7 separate regions of the Homo sapiens genome follow, and all the other regions are linked to region 4. The links are contacts of gene promoters, found by promoter capture Hi-C in blood cells and fetal thymus (Javierre and others, 2016). All regions are on one chromosome and are shown on one strand. Each heading gives the region's core, a stretch centred on a gene start or on the middle of the fragment in contact. The rest is flanking DNA. Distances are from core to core; before and after follow the strand shown.

Region 1 (3,698 bases), core at 749-3,248, 980 kb after region 4:
GTGACCCTGGCCCCAACTCCAAGTGACCCACTGCTTCATTGCCCAACACTATTCTGACTGTGGAATCTGCCTGTCTGTTCAGATTTTCTAACGTAAAAATTCATTTGGCTCAGGATTGGTCAAATATCCACTCCTGCTCCAATTATCTAAAGCCTACATGAAGGGAGAGAGTGTAGGTGTTACATACTGCCCAGGTCCGACAGATACTTAAGATAGGGAGCTAGAGACACACACACAAATAAAAACTGCAGTAGTTCTGGAGTGTTGACTACTAATACTCTGAAATACAAATGGAGTCATTAAAACATGTCTCTCCCTGCCTGTCATCTACATCCTCCCACCCACAACCCCGCCTCCCCGCCCCCCTACTGTCCAATCTTCCCACTCATCCCCTTTCCCCCACTCCACCCAATCCCCCTCCCACCTCTCCCCTCTCCCCCTGAAGATTGATTTCCCATTGAGATATATTTCTGTTCTATTTTACATTTCTGAATTTACTGAGGCTTTTGCAGCCAGATTCGCCTCCCACAGAGGAAGCAATTTTCCCTCCATGAAAAATTCACAGCTTTACACCACGGGCAGTCCCAGTTCCCTGGCCTGCGATATACTGGAGGTCTTCTCTGCTGATGGAGTTCGGAGTCTCTCCTGTCTCTTGGGGGCTCTTGAGGGTCTATTCCCTGGGCCTCCACATCTGACCACAGGCTAGCATCAGAGGCCCCCCAGTTGAAAGGCATCTGAGTTGGAACCCGTTCTGTGACCTTTGCTGGTGAAGGGGGTATATTGGGTATGGCTGAGAAGGCGGACAAAGGGCATGGGTATGAGTATGTGAATGAGGTAGGGAGCTGGACAGGAAGAGGCTCCAGTGAGACTGTGGACCCAAGCCCAGAGAAGACAGACATGGCTGTTTGTACTGACCTGAGATCTTTCTCCCTCTGCCCCGCAAAGGTGTAATTTGCCTGCTACAATAGCTCCGAGGGGCTGCCTGAAGCCTCCTCCCAGCCCCTGCAAGACCTCTGCGGGGGCAGGCCCTGCCTCTGCATACCTCTCCTCTCCTTTTCCTCCAGCAGCACCAGCAGCAGCCACCGCCTCCTTTTCCTGCTCACCTGCTCCTTCTGTCCAATCCCCTCCGGCAGTGGCCAGGCCTGGAAACACTGTAGCCTGGCCCTGTCCCTGGGGAGGTGCCAGCTCCTGGAGAGAAGTAGGCAGAGCTGAAACACATTCTGGGGACAGGGCAGGGGGTCCGGACAGGTTGGGGCAGGGCAGAGGCATTGGACAGGGACCATTCGGGGGATCTTACGGCATGGAAGAGCTTCCATCTCAGCATGTCCCGCTCTCTCTGCACCTCCGCAAGGCTGGTCTCGGTTAGCTGCAACTGGAAGGTCGCCTCATTGCATTCCATCTCCTGCTGTTCCTTGAGTTCCGTCAGGTTTGAGGCCAAGACCAGCGCAGCTGATCTGTGCAGTTTGGCAAAGCCTTGCAGCCACTGCACCCTGCGGTTTTGTAACTGCCCCTGCCTGTGGGCAAAGCGCACACCCAAGGCCAGGCTGCCCCAGGTGCAGGCCTCTTTGACCTCGCTGGGCACCTCGCTGTCCTCCAGGATGGCCCTGAGCTTGTCTTCCACCTCCTCCCAGGATAAGGATATATTCTCGAAGTAGAACTCGGGGCCTTTCGTGTGCCTGGCCATTTTCTCGATGATGAAGGCCACCACGTTTCCGTGCCGGAACCCACTACTGGGGTCCTCAGGTCTCAAGGCCATGATCGCCTAGGGGCTTAACGGTTTCACTAGCCCTGTGTGGATGGAGCAGCCAATAGGTTTCTTTCCTCCTCCTTAGCCCCTCCCCTCATCTGTCTTCTCCGCCCTCCCACCTCTGACAAGACCCTCCTAATGACCCTCTGACCGGCTTGTCCTACCCTAGGACATCTCCCACCAGGCCTCACCTCTTCAGCCAGGGCCAGAGGAAGTACAGGCCAACCCCGCTGCTTAACACGCCTGAAGAGAGGGTGGCCTCTTTCCCTCCTAGGGCTCTGCGGGAAAAGAAGCCTCAGGGCCAACCCATGAGGATTTTACTCTGGGACTGTTCCAATTTCCAGAGACTGTAGGGGTGAAAGGGAGTGAGTGAGGAAGGCCTCTGCCATTCCACTGGGACAAAAGGGAACCTGCCACATGGTCGGGAGACCTTGAAGGCTGAAAGAAACAGGAGTGGTCCGGAAGGACTTAGGACCAAAAAAAGTATTTGTGAACAAGTTGAAGACTTATCCCTCCCCATCATAATGGTTTGTGCCATGCCAGGGGAGTTTCGCCCCCAACTGGAATATTCTAGAGCAGGAAACAGCCCCAACCCCTCAGTTGCCCTTGGAGGAAGAGGGTGGAGCCAGGAGCGGAGCTTATCCCCTGTTTGCTCAGGACTAAACATCCCAGACACCCTAACAAATCCTGGCCTGCCTTTCCTCCCTTAGCTCCTCTTTCCCCACACTCCTCCCATCACCCCTTCTCCCACTCCTCCCCTACTGAAACGCCTTGAATCTTGAAGCAACTGTGGGAGAAAGAGAGTTAGGAGTAGCATAAATACACCTTTTTACCAAAACATGAAATATCAGAGATCTTCCATCAGAGGGATATGAATATGTCTCTTAAAACCTTCGGCCGGGCGCGGTGGCTCATGCCTGTAATCCCAGTACTTTGGGAGACCGAGATGGGCGGATCACGAGGTCAGAAGATCGAGACCATCCTGGCTAACAGGGTGAAACCCCGTCTCTACTAAAATTACAAAAAATTAGCCAGATGTGGTGGCACGCGCATGTAGTCCCAGCTACTCGGGAGGCTGAGGCAGGAGAATCGCTTGAACCCACGAGGCGGAGGTTGCAGTGAGCCGAGATCGCACCACTGCACTGTAGCCTGGGTGACAGAGTGAGACTCTGTCTCAAACAAACAAACACAAAAACAAGAAAACCTTGAATGACTTTCTGAGACCCACAAGATAAATCAGACAAATCTCAGGTTGAGTCCAGCGTTGCTACGTATTACATGACATTGTACTGTAACTGAATCTGTTTCTACCTATGGATCTATGATGATGGCCAATGACAAAAGGGCATGTAAAGTTGTAGGAGTAATGTTTTCTATGATCCCGTATTTGTGTGTATGTGTGTGTTTGCATATGTTTGTATGTTTCTATAATCTTGGAGAACAGAATGAGAGAGGATATATAGCAGACTCAACATTAATTATCTCTGGGAAGTGGGGTTGGACTGGAGGTTAGAAAAAAAGTTTTTAACTTTAAAATACATTTTTCTCTAATTTCGCTTGTTACAAAGAGCATATAACTAACTATATGTATGCATACATCACAAATCTGGAAAGTTATATACTAACACTTTAACAGTGGTTATCTTTGGGTAATAGGAATACAGTACTTTAAAAAATATTCTTGACATTTTTCTCTATTGTAAAATTGTTTATAATAAACGTGTTATGTTTTTCAAAATTGAAAAAAAATGTTTCTCCCAGTAACAGCTGATCATTGTAAATAATTTTTAAGTGCTTGGAAAGTACTTCTATAATCCTACCCTTCCTTCAACCTGGGTGATAATCCCTCTTAATAGTTATATAGTCTTTTAGATAGGCCATAGCAAGTAATTTTTAGTTTTTCAAACGAAGCATCTTCTCTCTTCCTCTGTGGCCCTTGCACAGGCTCCTC
Region 2 (3,799 bases), core at 30-2,529, 910 kb after region 4:
CTAGCCTTTTCTTCTGTGATACCTAATCTGCTGTTAACCCCTCCAGTGTATTTTTTATCTTAGATATTATAACTTTCATCTCTAGTTTGATTTGGGTCTTTTAAAAAATGTCTTCCATATCTCAAGATATTCAGGCTGGGTGTGGTGGCTCACACCTTTAATCACAGCACTCTGGGAGGCTGAGGTGGGAAGATCACTTGAGACCAGCCTGGGCAACATAGCGAGATTCCATCTAAAAAAAAAAAAAAAAAAGCCTGCATCTGGTGACATGTGCCTGTAGTCCTAGCTACTTGGGAGGCTGAAGCAAGAGGATCTTCTGAGCCCAGGAGTTCAAGGGTACAGTGGGTCACGATGCTGCCACTGCACTCCAGCCTGGGCAACAGGACAATGTCTTGTCTCTGAAAACAAAAAAAGATATTTAGCCTTTCCTCTAGCTTTCTGAACATATGGAATACAGTTAAAATAATTGCTTTTATGTCCTTGCTTGCTAATTCTAATACCTGTGTCATATCTGGGTCCGTTTCAATTGGTTGCCTTTTCTTCTCATTATGGATTGTATTTTCTTGATTTTTTGCCTATCAGGTAATTTTTTACTGGATATCAGACTTGTTAATTTTCTCTTTCGGGATGCTGTATATTTTTGTATTCCTATAAATATTCTTAAACTTTGTTCTGAGACACAGTTAAGTTACTTGAAAACAGCTTGATCCTTTCAAGTCTTGGTTTTCAGATTTGATAGGTGAGATCAGAGCAATGTTTAGTCTAGAGACAATTTTTCTCCACTACTGAGGCAAAACCCTTCTGAGTACTCTATTCCAGTGTCCTGTGAGTCATGAGATTTTCCAGTTTAGCTGGTAGGAACACACACTATTGCTAGACCTATGTGAGTACCAGGGATTGTTCCCTCTTATCTTTTTGGGTGGCTCTTTCCCCAGCATTATGCAGTTTCCTCGCATGCATTTGTTGATCAGTATTCTGTTGACTACTAGAGGGAAACTCTGAAGGTCTCTAGAATTCTCTCTGCAGCTTTTTCCTCTCTGGTACTATGTCCTGTGAACTCCAGCCAACTTCGTCCACTTGGATTCTCAGCTCTGTCTCCTTAATTTTAGGGAACTCATTGGGCTCTGCCTGGATTTCCCCTTCCTGTACCACTTGATTCCCTTAAGCTTTTCAAACAAACGCTCCTGTAGTTTCTTAAGAAAGAGTACATGGGAAGTAAATTTTCAAGAACTTTTTGCCTAAAAATATTTCAAGTTAATTTTCACACTTGATAGGTTGGAAATAAATTTTGAAGGCATGACTTCATTGTCTCCTGGCTTCCATTATTGTGTTGAGACGTTCACTGCCGTTTTGAATCCAGATCTTTTGAATATAACCTATGTTTTAAAATCCAGAAGCTTAAACAAAAGTTAATATTACTTTTAATTGACAAATCATAGTTGTATACATTAATGGGTTGCAATGTGATGTTTTCATATATGCATACAATGTGGAATGACTAATCAAAGCCAATTAACATATCCATTACCTCACCATTTTTTGTGGTCAGCCATTGAGATTTACTCTTTTAGCTATTTTGAAACATACAATATGTTATTATTGATTATATTCACACTGCTGCACAACAGATCTCAGAAACTTATTCCTCCTGTCTAACTGAAACTTTATACCCTTTGTCCAACAACTCCCCATTCCCTCCTCATACCAGCCTCTAGTAACCACCATTCTACTCTCTATTTCTATGAGTTTGATTTTTTCAGATTCCACCTATGTGCGAGATCATATGGTATTTGTCTTTCTGTGCCTGGCTTATTTTACTTAGCATACATCCTCCAGGTTCATTTATGCTGTCAAGGATAACAGGATTTCCTCCAACTTCAGTGGCTGAAAGGTATTACATTATGTATCTATACCACATTTTCTTTATCCATTCATCCATTGATAGAAACTTAGGTAGATACCATATCTTGGCTATTCTGAATAATGCTTCAGTGAACATGGGAATGCAGATATTTCTTTGACATATTGATTTCAACTTCTTTGGATATATACTGACTAGTGGGATTGCTGGATCCTACAGTAGTTCTATTTTTAGTTTTTTGAGGAACCTCCATACTGTTTTTTATAATGGCTGTACTAATTTATATTCCCACCAACAATGTATAAGGGTTCCCTTTTCTCTACATCCTCACCAGCACTTATCCTTCCTCCTTTTAATAATAGCCATTACGATCTAGAAGTTTTAAAGATCTTATCTTTAACCCAGTTTTTCTGAAATTTCATCAAGATTTGCCTCTGTTATAGATTTTCCTTTCCTTTCCTTTCCTTTCCTTTCCTTTCCTTTCCTTTCCTTTCCTTTCCTTTCCTTTCCTTTCCCTCTCTCTTTCTCCCTCTCTCTCTCTTTCCTTCTTTCTTTCTTCTTGTTCTGTTGCCCAGGCTGGAGTGCAGTGGCACGATCTCAGCTCACTGCAATCTCTGCCTCCCAGATTCAAGTGATTCTTCTGCCTCAGCCTCCCTGGTAGCTGGGACTACAGGCTCACGCCATTACGCCCGGCTAATTTTGGTATTTTTAGTAGAGATGTGGTTTCACCATGTTGGCCAGGGTGGTCTCGAACTCCTGATCTCCAGTGATCTGCCCACCTTGGCCTCCCAAAGTGCTGAGATTACAGGTGTGAGCCACCGTGTCTGGCGCGTTGTGGACTTTTTGTCATTCATTTTTCCTGGGCACTCAGTGAATCTTTCTAATCTAAAGACTGGTGACCTCTAGCTCTGGGAAATGTTCTTGTATTATTTGCTAATAATTTCCTCCCCTTTATTCTTTCTCTTCTTTGTTTATGGGACTTTGATTAGTGAACTGTTGGACATCCTAGACTTTTTTTCTCTAATTTTATCTTTTCCATTTTCCATGACTTTGTCTTCTTATTTTACTAAGATACTTCCTTAATTTTTCATTAAATCCTTCTATTGAAATTTTAATTTCAGCATTCCTAATTTTATTCACAAGAGCTCATCCTTCACCTTGTTTCTTTTTTAGCATTCTGTTTTTGCTTTGTGGATACGAACTATTTGGTTTTCTTCTTGAGAATATTGTCATTTTTAAAAGTTTGCTTCTAAACCCTGCATTGTCTGGGTTTCCTCCCAGTTCCTTTTCTCTGTTAGTTTAAATTGCTGTCTTTTCCTAAATATCTGGCAAACTACTGGCTGTGTGTTTGAGTTTAAGCACTAAAAGATGACTGGAAACTCTGAGTGGATGGGAATAATTTATGGGTTGGTGAACTTTGCTATAGGATTATAAGGCGGAATGCTGGCTTTTTATTGATGGACTCCCAAGTGTCAGTTCTGTAGGTCTTTTCTCTTGGGTCAGTTTCCCTTGGATGAAATCCTCCAATCTCCTGCTTTTGATTGGAGGGGCAGCGGTGTGGAAGGTATAAGCCTGGCTGCCAGCATTCTGGGAGCCAAGGAGGGAAAAGGAGCTGAGAGTTTTAAGACTGCTTTTAGTATAATGTCAAAGATCAGCAGAAAGTAAAACTCACATATCCTGCCAGAATGAGGGAAGGGTAGTCTCTGGTTTAGTGTGCATGGATCTGTGGATCTAGTTGTTCCTCATGCAAACTTTCAACTTTCTGTGGCACTAAATCAACTTGATGTTGTTGGCTTCCTGATCTAGCTTTCTCTGGACTGTTATTGGTTACCACACATTCATCCCTTTCTAGCTTCCAAACATTTGTTGACAATCTTTTACTTGTTGGCATCTCTTTTCCATTCTCTTTGTCTTTGTGGGTTTATGACATTTCATTCT
Region 3 (3,840 bases), core at 1,125-3,624, 860 kb after region 4:
AGGAAGGAGAGGCCTTCAAAATGTGGAAGATTTGATGAGTCAATTGGAGCAGAAGCATAGAAGATTTCATTAGTCATCTTTGAGGGAGAAGGTTCTACGCAAATATGAAGATGGAACATAAATTCAAAGAGGTCAGGAAGAAAGTAAGTTATAAGGAAATGCAGGGCTGGGCGCGGTGACTCATGCCTGTAATCCCAGCACTTTGGGAGGCTGAGGTGGGTGGATCACCTGGGGTCTGGAGGTCAAGACCAGCCTGGCCAACATGGTGAAACCCCATCTCTACAAAAAATACAAAAATTTGCCAGGTGTGGTGGTAGACACATGTAATCCCAGCTACTCAAGGGGCTGAGGCAGGAGAATTGCTTGAACCCAGGAGGTGGAGGTTGCAGTGAGCCGAGATCGTGCCATTGCCCTCCAGCCTGGACGACAAGAGGGAAACTCTGTCTCAAAACAGACAAACAAACAAACAAAAGGAAATGCAGGTTGCAAGAAGTTTGATCACGAAGGTGAAGCAAGAAATAAGGTGGTAGTTATTATCCTTTCGAAGAGCAGAAAAGTCAGACTCATAAATGCTCTGTTTGTGTATTATTCTGCTACTGGTGAGTTAACAGTAGGAATCACTAGATCCACTGCGTTCATCCACATATGCTTCCCTTCCCTCCCTGACTTGGTGTCCAGCTTTATCTCCAACCCAGGACACTGTAGCCTTAGTTTCTACAACTTGCCTGTCCTAAAAATGGTATGTACGTCCTGGGAGGCAGTGTGCTGTGACAGCTTTGGAGTTGGACAGACAGGAGTCATGTTAGCTGTGCAACCTTGAACACATACTTTTTCTGAGCCTCAGTTTCACCATCTATAAAACTTGGACTAATAATACATTGAAGAGAAAGGCAATACATGTAAAGTACCTGCTACTGTGCCTGGCATATATAGTCAAAGCTCAATAAACGGTGGTGGTGGTAATACTAGTCATAGTAGCAGGAGGAGGAGGAGGAGGGAAAGAAGGAGAAAGAGGAAGAGGAGGTGTAATAGCAGGAACAGTTGCTAGTAGCAGTAGTACTAGTAGTAGTAATTTTGGGCACTACACATTTTGCCAGAGATTCCTAGCCCTGACCTCAGGACTTCCAAAGCTTTTTATCACTATCTCTGAGAGTGGGGAGAACAATCATTCCCAAATACTCATAACCAATTTCAAATTTTACATATATCAACTAAAACTTTTCTTGGGAAGAGGGAGTGGTAATGAAATTGCAGCAGCAAAAATATTGGGTACCTTGGCCATGTGACTCCACCTAGCCCACCAGTAACTCTGCAGATGTGATAGACTAAAAAGGGTTATTGTGCTCAATAAGCTGCTAGTTTGCAGTTACTAATTTAAACAAATTTTATTTAGTAAGGAAACATTTACTGCCCTTCTGCAAGAATATCCAAAAGATTCTTCGTGTTGATACTTAAGTAAATTTGCCCATTATCCTGCCCAAATTCTTCTTGATTACTGCCTTTAAGCAAAGCCAAAAGAAAAGTTTTAGGGAGGGTCACATGCTTTCATCTCTAGTAATTTTAAAAAGAGAGAGTTCTATAATTTTGTATTTGCGATTTAAAATGTTTATTAGCAAAAATGTTCTGTGAATATTTTTGTTAGAGATGGAAGAGCAAGGGGAGCAGACTTAAGAGCTCCTGAGAAAGATTTGAACTGCTAGTGTCTTGTGAAAATGAAATACCTAGTTTGAAACCACTGTGGAATTATAGATGGAGAAAATTGTTTCCATGAAAAATGGAAAATAAGTTCAGTGATCCAGTCAATCTATTCATTTATACTACTGTAGTGACTAATTCAGAGTATTACATTCAATCTTATTAAGAATATAACGATTGACATTTAATATAGATGAAAAACCTAAGTTAACTGTGCAATCCAGTGTGTGGTCATAGCCTATTTTTATACTAGAAAAGAAAGTGCTTTATAATTTTTCAGAGACCTAATGCATTCAATCCTTTTTAAAAAATACTTTGTGACAATTCTTCATTTATGTCAGTAAAGTAACATTTTTGAAGACATTAAATGTTGCAGTTGAAATACTTGGAGGGTATTAACACATGACAGGGTTTAAGGATAAAATTAGTTAGGATTAATATTGTTTTCCTCGCCCTCCTCCCTCACATCTATAGGGCAGGTAAGCTTTCAGGTGTGGTCATGTCTTCATAGCCGAAACAGTTCACATAGGAATGCACTTTCATCCCACTTTTGCACTTTTCCTTTGGCACAGTGAAGCTTATCTTACAGTCCCGTTTCCCATCCCTCCTCTAGTTCTCATTTCTGTGTTCAAATTCCAGGTCACTCACTAAATGACCAGAAGACTTGCTTAATTTTGGCTCCTCTTGTTTGCTCCACTATTTTCACAATCCACCCAAATTCCCCATTTCCAGTGTGCTCTTGGAAAGTTAATGGAATCTTAATAATTCAGCTAAGGCTCTATCAAGCTTATCCTATACCTTGAAATGTTTCTAGTTCCACTTTTACCTCTAATCTCTCCTGCCATCAACCCAACTAAAACTAAACAAATGTTTTAAAAACCCAGACTTGAAACCAAAACAACTATCACCACAGCAGATAGGCACACAGCCATTGAGATGTCCTTACTGTCTCTGCCTGTCTAGAGGAGTCCAGCTCTGTGGTACGGTAAGCAAGGATTGGGAGGAAGAGAATCTTACTTGAATAATTTGTTCTGGGCACTGTGCTAGAGACATCATTTCTAATCTCACTTAGTGTTTATGACAATCCTGTGATACAGCTGGTTAATATTCCCATTTTTCAAGTGAGGAACTTGAAGGCCAGAGATATTAGATGCCTTACTCAAGGTCACACATAAGTAAGCTGGGATGCAGTTCTACATTTCTCTCACTCCAAAGTCTATGTTCTTTCCATTGCATTGTGCAGCCTAGTGGAGAAGTTGTTGGTTTACTTGCCACCGATTCATTTGTGCTCAGATAGGTAGGAGGCAGCTCCAGAAAACCCTTTGTTTTTCTCCACTAAATAGCTCTAGCTCTAGAAAAACATATGGTCTGTTTGGGGGCCTGGCGTTCCTGAATCTGTGGTAAGCCTCTTATGTACTCCTGCCATTGGCCTACCTTTAATAGCCCAGAGCAGCTCTCCATATTCTGACAGCCCTTCATGGGGTACAGAGGAGAGGGAGTTGCCTAGAGTTGGCAGAAGGAAGCAATAATACCCACAATTAGGCATTTACTTGCTCAGATTATTTTTGTGCCATGAGGGGTGGAAATAGTGTGGGCAGCTCCAGGTATCAACACTGTCCTCAGCCATAGAGTTTACGCTGGGACCCATATTTTCTTGCTGAGACTGCCGGGATGGGTCCTCATTCTAGGGCTGTACATGACCATGTTTCAGGGTAAAAGTAGTCTCCATGAGACACAGGGTTTCTTAACAGTTACTAAGAGTTTGACAGTAAAGATGTACTCTCAAAAGTATAATTAATGTTTGCACATTTAAAACAGGATATAAATAACAAATATAATACCACAATGACTGCAAATATATAGATTTCCTCAAAAAAGAGTGAATGCATTGCTATTATTAATGGTGTCTTTTGATGGAATGATTACTTAGAAGTACACATACAGCCAGGAAATCAGCTATTTACTACCTCAAGACAGAAAGAGAATCCAATGCCTCTGTCTATTCTCACTACCTCTCCTCTCACCTAAATCAAATCTTGAATCCAAGTTTACCCTATCTCAGCCAGTCCTAAGAACTCTTAATTATTCCTAAGAGCTTTAAATACATTAGCTCATTTAATCCACACAATAACCCAATGAAGTACA
Region 4 (3,649 bases), core at 604-3,103:
TGGCCAAAATCACAAATATCCAAAATTACAAATTGGAAACTCATTAAATCACCTGGAAAGTACAGTAAGCACAGCACAGGTATATCACGTTCTGCACCGTGCCAACCATGAGAGAACAATACATTTCGCTTTCCCATCCCCCACTATGTAAATCACTACTTTTTGCTCCCTTGTAGTCTTTCTTGTAAATTACATACTTAACTTGGATTGTATTCCATTCTGCAGAGGTTCAGTGCACAGCCCCAAGGCACAGTACCAAACCTCAAAGATACAGTCCCTCTGCTCTAGGGTTCCAAACGTATCAATTCCACTTTTTGCCTTTCACCTTCTAATTAAATTACACATATTGTAAAGCATTCCGTGTTATGGTTAATCATCAAAGGTCTCTATCATTCTTATCACCCTTCCAAGTAAGTCCCCTGCTACCCATTGACTTCTTACCCAAGATAACTCTCATGGCATGGCCACAGCGACTGCTTAAGTAGAGACCGGGGTTCATTTGGGGAGCTTTGAAAACATTTTCAAGAGTTTGTTCTGTGCAACCTTGCCCATAAACACTTCTTCCTTCTTTCGATTTTCAAAGCATGTATAATGCGCCCTGTATGCTGCTGCGTTTTGTGCAGGACTGCGTTTCTTCTTTGCTTTCCACACAGTAGCACACTACTGCAAAAACTGGTGTAATTGGCTTGAAGGGATCAACTGAAAACACTTTAAAAGCAAACACCGGTGGAGCGAGAGGTTAAGTCCTCAATATTCATTCCAGCGGTGTGAGGGCGCTCGTGGACCACGGACCCAGCCCTCCGCAGTAGCAGGGAGCCAAATGCACTCGTGTCATCTCTTAAGAGATGTCCCATCATTCCTAACTTTTCTTGTCTCAAAAGTTAAGGAACTCCGCTTTCCAGACCTTTCCCCAGGACCCGCCTCGGTCCTCTACGCCCCTTTGCTAGCTAGGCATCCTCCGTCGGTCGCCAGCCCCTGCGGACCCAGCTGCCTCAGGGCCCGAGGTTTTTATGCATCTCCTTTTGATTACTAACTAAGCTATCCTAAAGTGCCCGAACGTCACGAGCGCGAGAGAAAAACCACACTGGTGTCTTTAACGCTTCAGACACACCTCGTTTCCTCCGTTTTATGAGCGGAACCTAGTTCCTGGCGAGAGAGCCATCCCCCTCCTCCGCCTGCGGAGCCGGGGCCGGTTCCGAGGCCCCCACCCCAGCCCCGGCCCGCCCCGCGCGGCTCTGCGCATTCCTCTCGCGTCCGCGGCACCACGCTGGCACCACTGCCTCGGGCGAACACGGCCGGGCCCGCCCTCGCCACTCACCTAGCAGCTCCGCGATGGCACTGAAGGGTCGCGTGTGGCTGCTGGAGTTGCTCTGGAGGTAGCGGGGGCTCATCTGGGGGCGAGAGAAGGTCCCGACCCGCGTGAGGCCTCGGCCCGCCGGGCCCTCCCCGCGCGCCCCCCGCAGCCCAGGGGCCCGCGCGCGCGTCCGCCCCCTCGGGCCCCGGACCTACCGTGCTCAGGCGGATCCCGAAGGCCTGCGGGCCGCCGCCGGGCCGGGCCAGCCCGCAGCCCGGCGCGCCAGGGCCGGCGGGGGCCCCTCGGTACAGGAGCATTTTTTTGGCCGCCACGGTACCCGTCTGCTGCCGCCGGACCCCTGGCCCGGCGGTCCGGGACTAGCCCTCGCTCACTTCCACTCGCAGCTGGCGGCGACCGTCCGGGACCGGCCCTCCCTCGCTCCCACTCGCAGCTGGCGGAGGCGGAGCGCGCTCCAGCCACCTGTCCCGGGCGGGAGGGGTGAGGCCGGCTGAGGCAAGCGGCGGCTCCGCCCTGTCAGCACCTCTACCGACCCGGCGACTGCCCGGGCTGCCTCTGGGCCGTACAGAAATATGGCGACCTCCTGACAGCCGCTCCTTGATCCCCGCCCCTAATTAATTATTGGCGTATGCCATAGGCCAGGCCGCCGAGCGGGAAAGCGCGGGGGGCGGGGGTGGCGCGTGGGGAGGGGCGTGAATGAAGCAAGAGGAGGGAGAGCATGTATGGGATTTCTGGAACCTAGTCCCGCTTAGGCTGCATGACTAACAGGCAAGATAAGACAAGTCTTTCAAGTTCTAAAGACTACAGTGTTGCTATCTGGGAAGATAGCAAGCTCGCCTGATGGGAAAACATTCTACCTACTCTGCCTCAAATGCCTCCAGAAGCACCCAGAACTTTCTGGAAGGCAATTAGCAAACTATCTCCAAAGTCTTGCTAGCATGCAGGGACGGTGTTTCTAAAAGGAGAAATTGGATTCACTTAAATACCGCCAAGTAGGGGATTGGTCGAGTTATGAAGTATGCATAAAATGAAATACCATCCAGTTCTTGAAGGCCATGTTTGTAGATAAGTATGTGTTGATGTAGAAAAATATTCATGAAGGAATGAAGAAAACAAGGAGTTACAACATATTGTGGAACGCATGATGCCTTTTCTATTGGAAAAACAAATATATATGTATACATATATACATATATATATATGCATGCATACACACATATACACATACATACATACATATATATATACACACACACACACACAACGAAAACCACTTGATATACACCAAGATGATATCTCTGGGTCTGGAACTAGACACTTTTTCCTTTTTTCTTACCTGTGTTTTCTAATATACTATAAATATACACTGATAATAGAAAAACAGATTCATTAAAAACATATGTAATGTTCTATGGCATGAATGAACTATAATTTATTTGACCATTCCTTTATGGTAATTTAGGTTGTCCTCTTTTTTTAATTTTGACAATACAAAAAATGCTCCTTCACACACTCGTGTACAGGTCATTAATTTCTGATACTGTTATCTCCACAGAATGAATTCCAAAAGATGAGACTGCTGCATCTAATAGCATGTGCATGGTTTAATCTTAATAAATACTGTAAGATAGGCAATTTGCCCTCCCAGCAACAATCAGTGCTCTTTTGTCATGTTCATAGCACTAGATGGTCCCAATCTTTTAACTTTTTGATAGTCTTTTCAATAAAAAATAGTATCTCCTTATTGTTTTAATTTGCATTTTCCTGACTACCAGTAAGGCTGAATATCTTTTCAAATGTTTAGTATACATTTGCATCTCCTCTTCTACAAATGCCTGTTTATGTCCTTTGAGCATCATTTTTTACCCCCATTGGGTGCTTTACATTTGTCTGTTTTTTAGTTATCTTTTCTTCAATTTTTTAAAATACACAAAAGTACAGAAAACAATATAATGAATCCCATGTACTTATTACTCAGATGCAGTAATTATCAAGACTGCCACACCTGCTGCAATGGACTGAACATTTGTGCCCCGCCAAAATTTGTATGTTGAAATCCTAACTCCCAATATGATGGTATTAGGTATTGGGATTAGGAGTTGGGGCCTTTGCCAAGTAATTAGGTCATAAGGGTGGAACCCTCATGATGGGATTAGTGCCTCATAAAAAGGACCCCAGAAAGCTCTCTCATCCTCTTTCTTCCATGAGGACTCAAGAAAGGGTCTGAATTCTGCAACCCAGAAGAGAGACCGTACCAGAACCTGATCATCTGCTGTTAATACGCAACCTAGTCTATGGTACTTTGTTAACAGCAGCCAGATCTGACTAAGGCACTTG
Region 5 (3,734 bases), core at 972-3,471, 890 kb after region 4:
GGCTGGATATGAAATTCTGGGTTGAAAATTCTTTTCTTTAAGAATGTTGAATATTGGCCCCCACTCTCTTCTGGCTTGTAGAGTTTCTGCCGAGAGATCCGCTGTTAGTCTGATGGGCTTCCCTTTGTGGGACCCGGCCTTTCTCTCTGGCTGCCCTTAACATTTTTTCCTTCATTTCAACTTTGGTGAATCTGACAATTATGTGTCTTGGAGTTGCTCTTCTCGAGGGTATCTTTGTGGCATTCTCTGTATTTCCTGAATCTGAATGTTGGCCTGCCTTGCTGGATTGGGGAATTTCTCCTGGATAATATCCTGCAAAGTGTTTTCCAACTTGGTTCCATTCTCCCCGTCACTTTCAGGTACACCAATCAGACGTAGATTTGGTCTTTTCACATAGTCTCATATTTTTTGGAGGCTTCGTTCATTTCTTTTTTTTCTTTTTTCTCTAAACTTCTCTTCTCACTTCATTTCATTCATTTCATCTTCCATCACTGACACCCTTTCTTCCAGTTGATCGAATCAGCTACTGAGGCTTGTGCATTCATCACATAGTTCTCGTGCCATGGTTTTCAGCTCCATCAGGTCCTTTAAGGACTTCTCTGCATTGGTTATTCTAGTTAGCCATTCATGTAATTTTTTTTCAAGGTTTTTAACTTCTTTGCCTTGGATTCGAACTTCCTCCTTTAGCTCGGAGTAGTTTGATCATCTGAAGCTTTCTTCTCTCAACTCATCAAATTCTTTCTCCATCCAGCTTTGTTCTGTTGCTGGTGAGGAGCTGCGTTCCTTTGGAGGAGGAAAGGCGCTCTGATTTTTAGAGTTTCCAGTTTTTCTGCTCTGTTTTTTCCCTATCTTTGTGGTTTTATCTTCCTTTTGTCTTTGATGATGGTGACGTACAGATGGGGTTTTGGTGTGGATGTCCTTTCTGTTTATTAGTTTTCCTTCTTACAGTCAGGACCCTTAGCTGCAGGCCTGTTGGAGTTTGTGGGAGGTCCACTCCAGACCCTGTTTGCCTGGGTATCAGCAGCAGAGGCTGCAGAACAGTGGATATTGGTGAACAGCAGATGTTGCTGCCTGATCTTTCCTCTGGAAGTTTTGTCTCAGAGGAGTACCCGGCCTTGTGAGGTATCAGTCTGCCCCTACTGGGGGGTGCCTCCCAGTTAGGCTACTCGGGGGTTAGGGATCCACTTGAAGAGGCAGTCTGTCTGTTCTCAGATCTCCAGCTGTGTGCTGGGAGAACCACTCCTCTCTTCAAAGCTGTCAGACAGGGACATTTAAGTCTGCAGAGTTTTCTGCTGCCTTTTGTTTGGCTATGCCCTGCCCCCAGAGATGGAGTCTACAGAGGCAGGCAGGCCTCCTTGAGCTGCGGTGGGCTCCACCCAGTTCAAGCTTCCCAGCTGCTTTGTTTACCTACTCAAGCCTCGGCAATGGTGGGTGCCCCTCCCCCAGCCTTGCTGCCACCTTGCAGTTTGATCTCAGAGTGCTGTGCTAGCAATTAGCGAGGCTCTGTGGGATTAGGTCCCTCTGAGCCAGGCGCAGGATATAATCTGGTGTGCCGTTTGCTAAGACCATTGGAAAAGCACAGTGTTAGGGTGGGAGTGACCCAGTTTTCCAGGTGCTGTCTCTCACCCGTTTCTTTGACTAGGAAAGGGAATTCCCTGACCCCTTGAGCTTCCTGGGTGAGGCGATGCCTCACCCTGCTTCGGCTCACGCTCGGTGCGCTGCACCCACTGTCCTGCACCCTCTTTCTGAGACTCCCCAGTGAGATGAACCCAGTACCTCAGTTGGAAATGCAGAAATCACCCGTCTTCTGCGTCACACACGCTGGGAGCTGTAGACTGGAGCTGTTCCTATTCGGCCATCTTGGCTCCATCCTCCTGTTTGTTTTATACCTTTTTTTTTTTTTTTTTTTGAGAAAGAGTCTCACCTTGTCACCCAGGCTGGAATGCAGTGGCGCAATCTCAGCTCATTGCAACCTCCGCCTCTCAGGTTCAAGTGATTCTCCTGCCTCAGACTCCCGAGTAGCTGAGATTACAGGCATGCGCCACCATGCCTGGCTATTTTTTGTATTTTTAATAAAGATAGGGTTTCACCATGTTGGTCAGGCTGAGCCTAAAACAGACCTCAAGTGATCTGCCCGCCTTAGCCTCCCAAAGTGCTGGGATTACAGGTGTGAACCACTGCGCCCAGCCCATCCTAATCAGGGCCTCTGACCCCCTTGGGGTTTTCCCCGTAGAAACCCCTTTGTTTATTTCTTGACTCACAAGGTAGTTGAGACCTCTGGAAATATGTTCTCAAGACCTCTTTGTTGCCCAGTCACAGAGTTCAGCGTTGGTTATTATTCTGAGGCTTCCCTTCCCTCTGATGCTTACAAACAGAATTCCTCTGGTCCTTGTCTTTCAGGCTCTTTCCTGGTACTTCCTATTTCTCTACTCCCTCAGCTTAGAAGCAACATAGGCTCTTCTTCAGCTATTTTCACTCTTCTACTTGGGCCCTTGCTTCTTCTGTTGGGCTGGAATCAGACTGTTTTCTGTCTGCCTGGAATCAGATTTTTTCCCTTTTGTCATCCAGAGTTCCCTGTCTCAGAAAGAATGACCTCTTTCTCATAACAATGCCCTTTTCGACCTTAGCTATGAGAGTTCAAATTTCCCTGGCCCTCCCAGTAGAAATTCCTTGCTCTGTATATATACAGGGAGTATCACGATGGTGAATCCATCCCTCAGAAACAAATGTCTTGGGAGGAGTGCTTATGTCAGACTTGAGTACAGAGAGTGGCTAAATGCTCCCCACAATCTGATCTGAGACTTAAGAAGGCGGAAACATTCACTGGCTTGCTTTGTTCTCCTCCCTTTCCATAATTCCTTGGTTGTGAAGGCAGTGAAAAGGATGGCCTTGGAAAAAGCCCTAGACTAGAAATCAGGAAACCTGGGTTCTGCTGCTGGCTCTGTCACCCACTAGTCACATGAACTTGGGTGGAACAGCCTGTGCAAACCTCTATTAGACTGCTTGCTCTTCCATGAAGGAATTTCTTGGTTACAGGCTGTTTCCTTGGTTGGACTAGAAGCTTCCTGAAGGTAGCAGCCATGGCCATGCCACAATCATTTTGGAAACTGCAGTTTCTAACTGGTCTCTCTGGCCCATCCTGTTCCCCTCCTATCCATTTTCCACATTGCTGTGGAAATGAACTTGTAAAATGCAAAACCTGTCATGTCACTCCCTACCACAAACCCTTTAATGGTTCCCCCACTGCCTTTAAAACCCATTATGATCTGGCCCCTACCTACCTCTCTAGCATGGTCTCCCAGACCTTTTTGCTGTCTTCGTCTTCTCTGCTGTGAATCTCCCCTTCCTCTAGCTAACTCTCATTCATTCCTTAAAAATATCACATCCTTAGGAAGCCTTCCTTGACCATCTAAGCTCCCCACTTGACAACTGTTGGTTAAATCCCCATCTTATAAGCACCCAAAGATTATCCTTTTTACGTGATAAACCTCTTTTGTAGCACTCCTCAAACAGGTAACTGCTCAGTATCTGCTTCCCTGCTCATTATAAGATTCACGAGATGATGGCAGAGGCCTTATCTATCTCGTGTATTGCTAAGTGCTTACTAAAATGCCTAGCACATAATAACAGTAAAATTTGTTCAATGGTAATATGAAATGACCTGTAATGTATCCACATAAATGAGTGTTGACTGCTTCAAGAATTGGGTGTATCCTCCATGGTAAGAGTGATGT
Region 6 (4,026 bases), core at 616-3,115, 800 kb after region 4:
AGAGAGGGTCAACAGTATGGTCGCGGTAAATCTGGGGGTCAGGTAAGGGATGAGTTTCGTGAAGATTTTCATTCTGGTAGAGGAGGCTTTGGAAGACAGACTCAGATCTAGAACAATCCATAGAGAAAAAGTTTTAACTCTAACCCCTTGAAAAGTGTGTTATAGACCAACCTCAAGTCTGCAAATAGCCAATTCCAAGTTTAAATTACCTTACTTGTTGATGTATTTTTTTCTCTGAAAATTTGTTAAATAGCAGAAACAAAAAAAATCCATTTGTTTTTGTCTGAATTTTGAAGATGCTTTTCAGATTACCAGTTTGACTGTTAGGTGGTCCAAAGTGAAGTGTTCTTCGGGAACAAATTAGGTATGTAAGATCAGAGTCAACCAAAGCACAACTTCCCTTTTAAGAAGATTTCTGTTGGATTCTATGGCCATGTTCCTGCAGCCCAAAATTATAATTTTTTTTAGAGCTTGCATAAAATACAGTCAAATAAGTGGAAATTTTAAAAAGTTATCAAGAGAAACACAAGCACTATTATTTGAAACCATAGAAAAGTCTGGAAGAATTTGTAATAAAAACAAAAATCCTCCTGCCCCACCTCTTCCTATCCTACGCCTATTCCCTGGACGATAACGCTTAATTATTTTTATTAGTTTTTGGTTTGTTTGTTTCTTGGTAGTTTCCTCCATATCTCCAAATAACATGACTACTTACTTTCTTTTTAAACGCTACGTACTGACTTCCTACTTTCAGAGATGAGGATTTAGCTCACTTACACCCCCATTTGCACTTCTCTACTCTCCATCCTCTCAATATAGTTCACAACACTTTACAGAGGGTTCCTGAGTTACAATGGCTTGGCTTACAATGTTTGGACTTTACAATGGTATAAAAGTGATGTGCATTCAGTAGAAACCATGCTTCAGGTACCCATACAACTATTTCGTTTTTGACTTTCAGTATAGTATTCAACAAATTGCATGAGATACTTAACACTTTATTATAAAATAGGCTTTGGGTTAGATGATTTTGCCCAAGTGTAGGCTAATGTAAAATGTTTAAGATAGGTTGTGCTATGCTATATTTGAGAGGTTAGATGTATTAAATGCATTTTCAACTTAATATATACAATAAGCTTATTAGGATGTAACCCCATCATAAGTCAATGAGCATCTGTACTTACTTTCTTTACTGTTACATAGCATAACTTAGGTTATACTGCAGTAATAAAAAATCGAAAAATTTTAGTGCTTAAAATTACTAAGTTCTGTTCCTCCCACTACATTCCCATTGCTGATTACATGGTGCCGGGGTCTGCTCCATGCCATGATTGTCCTCCTTCTGGGGCCTAGGCTAATAGTATACCCACTATCTGGAATGATGATGACAGAGGGAAAAACAGAGTGACAAATCATGTCCTGGCTCCTCAAGCTTCCACCCAGAAATGATATCCGTCACTTTTGCTCACATTTCCATTCTCAAAACATGTTGTCAAAACTGATTCTGAGGGAGTGGAGAAGGATCTGTAGGAAGAGATCCTGAATATTAGTGATGAGTTATACAGTTTACTACAGGTTCTCCTATAACTTTAATATATACAAATATAACCCCATTTTTGTTTTGCTCCACCATATAGTACTTCCCACTTTGTAAGATGAAGATGTTAATGTCCTTTTGCCTTTTCTTCATCTTTCTTCCTCCCCCTTCTACTTTCTAGCTTTTTTCATCTATATTTCTGTTTTTACATTGTCAAACTTGATAAAGTTGTCCGTGCTCTGTCTTTCAGTTAATTCCAAAAGTTTACAATTAGTAAAGAGTATTTTATTACTGTGACTATATAAATATTGTTCCCTGGTCAGGCGCAGTGGCTTATGCTTGTAATCCCAGAATTTTGGGAGACTGAGGTAGGCAGATCACTTGAGGTCAGGAGTTCAAGACTGGCCAGGGCAACATGGTGAAACCCTGTCTTTGCCAAAAATACAAAAATTGCTGGGCATGGTGGCATGTGCCCGTGGTCCCAGCTACTCAGGAGGCTGAGATGGTAGGATAGTGATCCCTCCTGAGCCCAGGAGGCGGAGGTCGCAGTGAACTGAGATTGTTCCACTGCACTCCAGCCTGGGTGGCAGAGTGAGACCCTATTTCAAAAATAAGTAAATAAATAAATAAATAAAGTTCCTTGCAAAGCCAGGGAGAGTCCAACATCTATATCTTTTCTGCTGGAATTTTTATTTACCATTCTCTCTTTCTTATATTTGCCTTTATTGCACCCCTTAATTTCCTTCAAACTCTGTAAAAAATTAAGCTTTCCATGGATATTCTCCTACTTTTTTCTTTTTTGAAGTCTCACTCTGTCGCCCAGGCTGGAGTTCAGTGGCACAATCTTGGCTCACTGCAAACTCTGTCTCCTGGGTTCAAGCGATTCTCCTGCCTCAGCCTCCCGAGTAGCTGGGACTACAGGTGTGTGCCACCACACGCAGCTCATTTTTGTATTTTTTTTAGTAGAGACGGGGTTTCACCATATTGGCCAGGCTGGTCTCAAACTCCTGACCTCCTGATCCACCCGCCTTGGCCTCCCAAAGTGCTGGGATTACAGGCGTCAGCCACTGCACCCGACAATTCTACTTTCCTCTCCATGGTCTGTCTGTCCTCCTATTCCAGTTTGGATTTGTTACTCTCTAGACCAGGATTTCTCAATCTCAGCCCTACTGATGTTTTGGACCAGAGAATTATTTGTTGTGGAAGGCTGTGTAGTGCATTGTAGAATTCAGTATCCTTGGCCTCATATACCCATTAAATACAGTAGCACGCATTTGTGCGCGCACACACACTTCAACTTGTGACAACCAAAAATGTCTCCAGACATTACCAGTTGTTTCTGGCAGGCCAGTGGGGAGGCAAAATCACAACTGGCTGCAAACCACTCCCTAGACAACAGTTTCCATCCAGAGATTTTTCTTCACTATAGTCCTGAATTGGACTGACTATTTCATGGATCCTGTGTTTATCCCTTTTGTGATTTACTTCTATATTAGTCCATTTTCACACTGCTGTAAAGAACTACCTGAGACTGGGTAATTTATGAAGCAAAAAGGTTTAATTGACTCACAGTTCTATAGGCTTAACAGGAGGCATGACTGAGAGTCCTCACGAAACTTACAATCATGGCAGAAGGTGAAGGGGAAGTAAGCACATCTTACCATGGTGGGCAGGAGAGAGAGTGAGAGAGCAAAGGGGGAAGTGCCACACACTTTTAAACCATCAGATCTCAGGATAACTCACTATCACAAGAACAGCATGGGGGAAATCCACCCCCATGATCCAGTCACCTCCAACCAGTCCTCTCCTCCAATTAGACATGAGATTTGGACAGGACACAAATCCAAACCATGTCATTCCACTCCTGGCTCCTCCCAAATCTCATGTCCTTCTCACATTGCAAAATACAATCATCCTTTCTGAATAGTCCCCCAGTCTTAACTCACTTCAGTATTAACTCAAAAGTCCACAGTCCAAAATCTCATCTGAGACAAGATAAGTCCCTTCTACCTATGAGCCTGTAAAAAAAAAAAAAAAAAAAAAAAAAGTTAATTACCTCCAAGATACAATGTGGGTACAGGCATCGGATAAATGCTCCCATTCAAAATGGAAGAAATTGGCCAAAACAAAGGGCCTACCGGCCCCATGCAAGCCTGAAACCCAGTAAGACAGTCATTAAATCTTAAAGCCTTGTATCACTTATTTGTAGTTTCTTCCCTTCTGTTTCCTCTGCTGTTTCTGTAACCCCTATTAGCTGGATACTGGGCATTTTGGATTTATTCCCTAATTTTCATGGCCCTGATTAGTGTAAATCAGTTATGATAATCCTCTCCTTCTTGCTAGTGATTGGTTTAGGAACCTAGGCTTAAGCCAATCAGAAGTGGGCAATCCTAAAATTATATTAATAAGCTGAGGGATGGACAGCGACCAATTGAGACCCCAGTGAGATCGAATGAAAGATTTTTAGTTTTAGCTTAAAGGAGAGGCTG
Region 7 (3,789 bases), core at 398-2,897, 840 kb after region 4:
CTCATTTCATATAGATTTTCATTAAATAGGTAGTTAGTTCAGTGCATTTAAAAGGTTTGATTTAGAAACAGCTTTTAGGTGTACATCTATTGTACTTAGGCATAAAGTATAATTGTACTCAGTACTTATGTATCCTGTGACAATATCTGAACAAATACCAATGGCAGAGCAAAATTTTCAAGCTCTGATGAGAGTCTCCAATGATGACAAGATAATAAACAAAAGCTACTCAAAAGCAAACAATGCTTTTCTTGGGCTTGGCTCTGTGGCTCACTCCTGTAATCCCAGCACTTTGGGAGGCTGTGGTGGGCAGATTGCTTGAGCCCAGGAGTTCAAGATCAGCCTGGGCAACATGGCAAAACCACGTCTCTACAAAAAATATAAACAAAAATTAGCTGGGCTTGGTGGCATACCCCTGGAGTTCCAGGAGGCGGAGCCCAGGAGGCTGAAGCAGGAGGATCGCTTGAGCCCAGGAGGTGGACGTTGCAGTTAGCCAAGATTGTACCACTGCACTCCACCCTGAATGACAGAGGGACACCTTGTTAAAAAAAAAAGCAAGAAAGATGCCCTTTTTCTTTCCTATACATAGGATTAACATTTTCAGTCAGTAAGATATGTTTTATATTTTTCCTTAGTTAAAGACAACTTAGAATATTTATGTGTGTGTATTTTAATTAATGGAAGACTCTAGGCAATTAAGAATTAGGTACCTGTGTGTTCAGCACAGAAATGCCTGTGGAAAAATAGATAGAGTTACCAAGAGGTTGGTTTCTTGTCAGTTGGGTGGCTTTTTTTGTTTGTTTTGTTTGTTTTTTTTTTTTTTGGCAGTCTCACTCTGTCACCCAGGCAAGAGTGCAGTGGCATGATCTCGGCTTACTGCAACCTCCACCTCCCAGGTTCAAGCGATACTTCTGGTTCAGCCTCCCGAGTAGCTGGGACCACAGGCAAGCGCCACCACGCCCAGCTAATTTTTGCATTTTTAGTAGAGACAGGGTTTCACCATATTGGCCAGGAAGGTCTGGACCTCCTAACCTCGTGATCCACCCACCTTGGCCTCCCAAAGTGCTGGGATTACAGGCGTGAGCCACTGTGCCCGGCCGGGTGACCTCTTTTACTCACTGATGCTCACTAAATTGAAGGTTACCAGATCTTAAAATTTCTGGAACTTTGCTAATTTCTATCTAGATATTGATTTGCATCCTGTTATGTTTTAGAAAGTATGAAAAGACACATGGGAGGTGAGCTTCATAGCTGGCTTGTGCTAGTTCAGCAGGTGTTTAGTAATGAAACCAAACTGAAGCCACAAGGCAATATGACTTTATTATTGATCAGCAACTATTGCTGAGTAGGTTGAAAAGTTTGAAATCATTCCCCATTCAGCTTGATGAACTGAAGGGGTTTCTGAAGGTGAGGGAAGAAGATGAAAGTGAAAACTATCATCTTTTATCTCAAGTAACTCAGTTTACTAGGAATAGAATGGAACGGAAATTTCCATGTGTGATAATAAGAAGTAATTCAAGTTCACACTCTGAGGAAAAACTTATTATCCTGCACCAAGGGCTACATTTTTCTAAAGCTCTCTCTTTTTTATGCAGGCTTTCAGAATGGAATCATTTCAGGAAGTAGAGAGTTACTTTAAAATATGGCATTGTTTTCCTTACACTGGATGTCACATAGAAGCAGCCCTACAGTTTACCTTGAAGTGAAATAGAGAACAATATTGGAGAATAGAGATTGGGAATTTTGCAGGGTCTCAGCCTTATCTTAGTCTAGGAAAAGAGATGTCAGTGGAGAATATGTGAGAGAATGATCCATGCAAATATTGTGAGCTGGAATGGTAATGTTAATCAGTCTATCAGGATTCAGAGGTGGCCATTTGGTTTTATCTATTTGTGCATGAAAATAAACATAGGCATTTGTCTAAAACAAGGTTTGAAGGGGAAGAAAGTCTTCCTGATTAGTTCCCAAATTGCTTTTCTATTGCTTAAGCATCTCTGGGGAATCCAGCACGTAAACGCGCCCATTGGTTAGTGTATAATTGTGTTATATCCATTTTCCTTTGGAAATGCCTAATGACTCTTGCTTTGTATTCCTTGCAGGTGAAAGCCCAGCCTCCGTGGTTCTTAATGCCTCAGGAGGACTATTTTCACTAAAGATGGAAACACTGGAGTCTGAATTGACCTGTCCAATCTGCCTAGAGTTGTTTGAAGACCCCCTTCTGCTCCCTTGTGCTCACAGCCTCTGCTTCAGCTGTGCCCATCGCATTTTGGTATCAAGCTGCAGCTCTGGTGAATCCATTGAACCCATTACTGCTTTCCAGTGTCCTACCTGCAGGTATGTTATCTCGCTGAACCACCGGGGCCTGGATGGCCTCAAGAGGAATGTGACTCTGCAGAACATTATTGATCGCTTCCAGAAGGCTTCAGTCAGTGGGCCCAATTCCCCTAGTGAGAGCCGCCGGGAAAGGACTTACAGGCCCACCACTGCCATGTCTAGCGAGCGAATTGCTTGCCAATTCTGTGAGCAGGACCCGCCAAGGGATGCAGTAAAAACATGCATCACCTGTGAGGTCTCCTACTGTGACCGTTGCCTGCGGGCCACGCACCCCAACAAGAAACCTTTCACCAGCCACCGCCTGGTGGAACCAGTGCCAGACACACATCTTCGAGGGATCACCTGCCTGGACCATGAGAATGAGAAAGTGAACATGTACTGTGTATCTGATGACCAATTGATCTGTGCCTTATGCAAACTGGTGGGTCGTCACCGAGACCATCAGGTCGCATCCCTGAATGATCGATTTGAGAAACTCAAGGTAAGGGATCTGGGGAGCATCCCCTATACAACTTTGTCGCATAAATGCAGTTAGCAAGTTCTCTAATAAAATAGGTGACTTTTCCTATATGACAAGTGAGTTAACTTTAAGTTGTTCTCATGAGGAATAACCTGCTCTCCTGCAAGCTCTTCCTGGAGCCTATCTCATCTGTTGCATAAACATTCTTGCAGTCACACACTTCTGGCTAACTTTTGGGGAGTCAGCTCATGGCCTGCAACACCAGTAGTTCATCCAGGGAAACACACCCTCTATCTTCTGTCAGTGACATATTGCTTATTATATATCTTTGCTATGATCTTTCCACCTCTTCTTTTAAGTATGTGAGTACTTGTGTACGTGTACTACAATTAGCATATGTGTCGATTTGCATATGTAGGTATATGGCAATGGGAAGGCAGGGTGTGTCTCTGTGTAGGTGTGGGTGGAGGTGGCTGAGTGTATCTAGGTAGGTGAGAGATTTTTGTGGAGGACATTATTGTATGTTTGTGTTTGTGTACTCAATACACTAAAGAAACAAAAGTTTGGCATTGGCCATTACAAATTGCCATTAAGCCTTTAACATAGGGCTAATTCTAAGCCTGCCTTTAAAAACAAAACAAAACAAAACAAAACAAAGAACTGAAGAAACTTCAGTATACCACGAAATTGGGAGGGATAATTAAATATCTGAATGAACAATTTAAACTGAAGGCAATAAATATTTTATCCAGTATCAAATTTTGTGACAGTGCTCACTATTATGGGCTACAAACTGAAGCATTTGTTTATAGTTCCTGCCTTACAAGTTCCTAGTCATTTATGTGTATTCAATGGACAGAGTTTTCTAAAGTTGTTGTGTCATATAATATGTATGTACAAGTCTAAGTGCCCATAAAAAGTCCTCCTACCTTACACTGATGATCCAGCGAATTGTTTTATTCCCATTGCTTGTCTGCTATGTTGTATAATTTCTC

Evidence for each region. The method cuts DNA at HindIII sites, captures the fragments that hold promoters and counts their contacts. A CHiCAGO score of 5 or more calls a contact.
Region 1: the fragment with the promoter of TEX13B here is called in contact with the fragment with the promoter of MORC4 in region 4 in 1 of 17 cell types (total CD4 T cells); the score reaches 5.1 in total CD4 T cells.
Region 2: a fragment that was not itself captured here is called in contact with the fragment with the promoter of MORC4 in region 4 in 1 of 17 cell types (total B cells); the score reaches 6.6 in total B cells.
Region 3: a fragment that was not itself captured here is called in contact with the fragment with the promoter of MORC4 in region 4 in 4 of 17 cell types (non-activated CD4 T cells, naive B cells, total B cells and 1 more); the score reaches 7.0 in non-activated CD4 T cells.
Region 5: a contact is called between a fragment that was not itself captured here and the fragment with the promoter of MORC4 in region 4, in 4 of 17 cell types (total B cells, total CD4 T cells, naive B cells and 1 more). The highest score is 11.6, in total B cells.
Region 6: a fragment that was not itself captured here is called in contact with the fragment with the promoter of MORC4 in region 4 in 1 of 17 cell types (total B cells); the score reaches 9.7 in total B cells.
Region 7: a fragment that was not itself captured here is called in contact with the fragment with the promoter of MORC4 in region 4 in 5 of 17 cell types (activated CD4 T cells, naive CD8 T cells, naive CD4 T cells and 2 more); the score reaches 7.1 in activated CD4 T cells.

The regions. Positions count from the first base shown.
Region 1 is chrX:107,980,372-107,984,069 of GRCh38, forward strand. TEX13B (testis expressed 13B) reads right to left here and starts at 1,999. Exons shown (of 3, transcript NM_031273.2): 1 at 1,939-1,999; 2 at 1,298-1,788; 3 at 493-1,188. The coding sequence starts at 1,756. The coding sequence ends at 709. It also overlaps the pseudogene LOC112267910 and the pseudogene NLRP3P1. The HindIII fragment of the contact is 6,409 bases long and covers 1-3,698 here.
Region 2 is chrX:107,908,463-107,912,261 of GRCh38, forward strand. The region is part of intron 5 of MID2 (midline 2); the gene reads left to right. All of the region lies in intron 3 of LOC101928335 (a long non-coding RNA gene), which reads right to left. Among named protein-coding and RNA genes, the nearest start is that of TEX13B, 72 kb to the right of the region's middle. The HindIII fragment of the contact is 231 bases long and covers 1,165-1,395 here.
Region 3 is chrX:107,861,174-107,865,013 of GRCh38, forward strand. All of the region lies in intron 3 of MID2 (midline 2), which reads left to right. Among named protein-coding and RNA genes, the nearest start is that of MID2, 37 kb to the left of the region's middle. The HindIII fragment of the contact is 209 bases long and covers 2,271-2,479 here.
Region 4 is chrX:106,998,359-107,002,007 of GRCh38, forward strand. MORC4 (MORC family CW-type zinc finger 4) reads right to left here and starts at 1,854. Exons shown (of 17, transcript NM_024657.5): 1 at 1,510-1,854; 2 at 1,319-1,391. The coding sequence starts at 1,611. RefSeq lists silencers at 1,619-1,828, 1,839-1,918. The HindIII fragment of the contact is 4,977 bases long and covers 1-3,649 here.
Region 5 is chrX:107,889,390-107,893,123 of GRCh38, forward strand. All of the region lies in intron 3 of MID2 (midline 2), which reads left to right. Among named protein-coding and RNA genes, the nearest start is that of MID2, 65 kb to the left of the region's middle. The HindIII fragment of the contact is 1,675 bases long and covers 1,385-3,059 here.
Region 6 is chrX:107,794,572-107,798,597 of GRCh38, forward strand. NCBP2L (nuclear cap binding protein subunit 2 like) reads left to right here. Exons shown (of 2, transcript NM_001348372.2): 2 at 1-1,258. The coding sequence ends at 111. Among named protein-coding and RNA genes, the nearest start is that of NCBP2L, 19 kb to the left of the region's middle. The HindIII fragment of the contact is 871 bases long and covers 1,431-2,301 here.
Region 7 is chrX:107,838,571-107,842,359 of GRCh38, forward strand. MID2 (midline 2) reads left to right here. Exons shown (of 10, transcript NM_012216.4): 2 at 2,100-2,815. Among named protein-coding and RNA genes, the nearest start is that of MID2, 15 kb to the left of the region's middle. The HindIII fragment of the contact is 6,166 bases long and covers 1-3,789 here.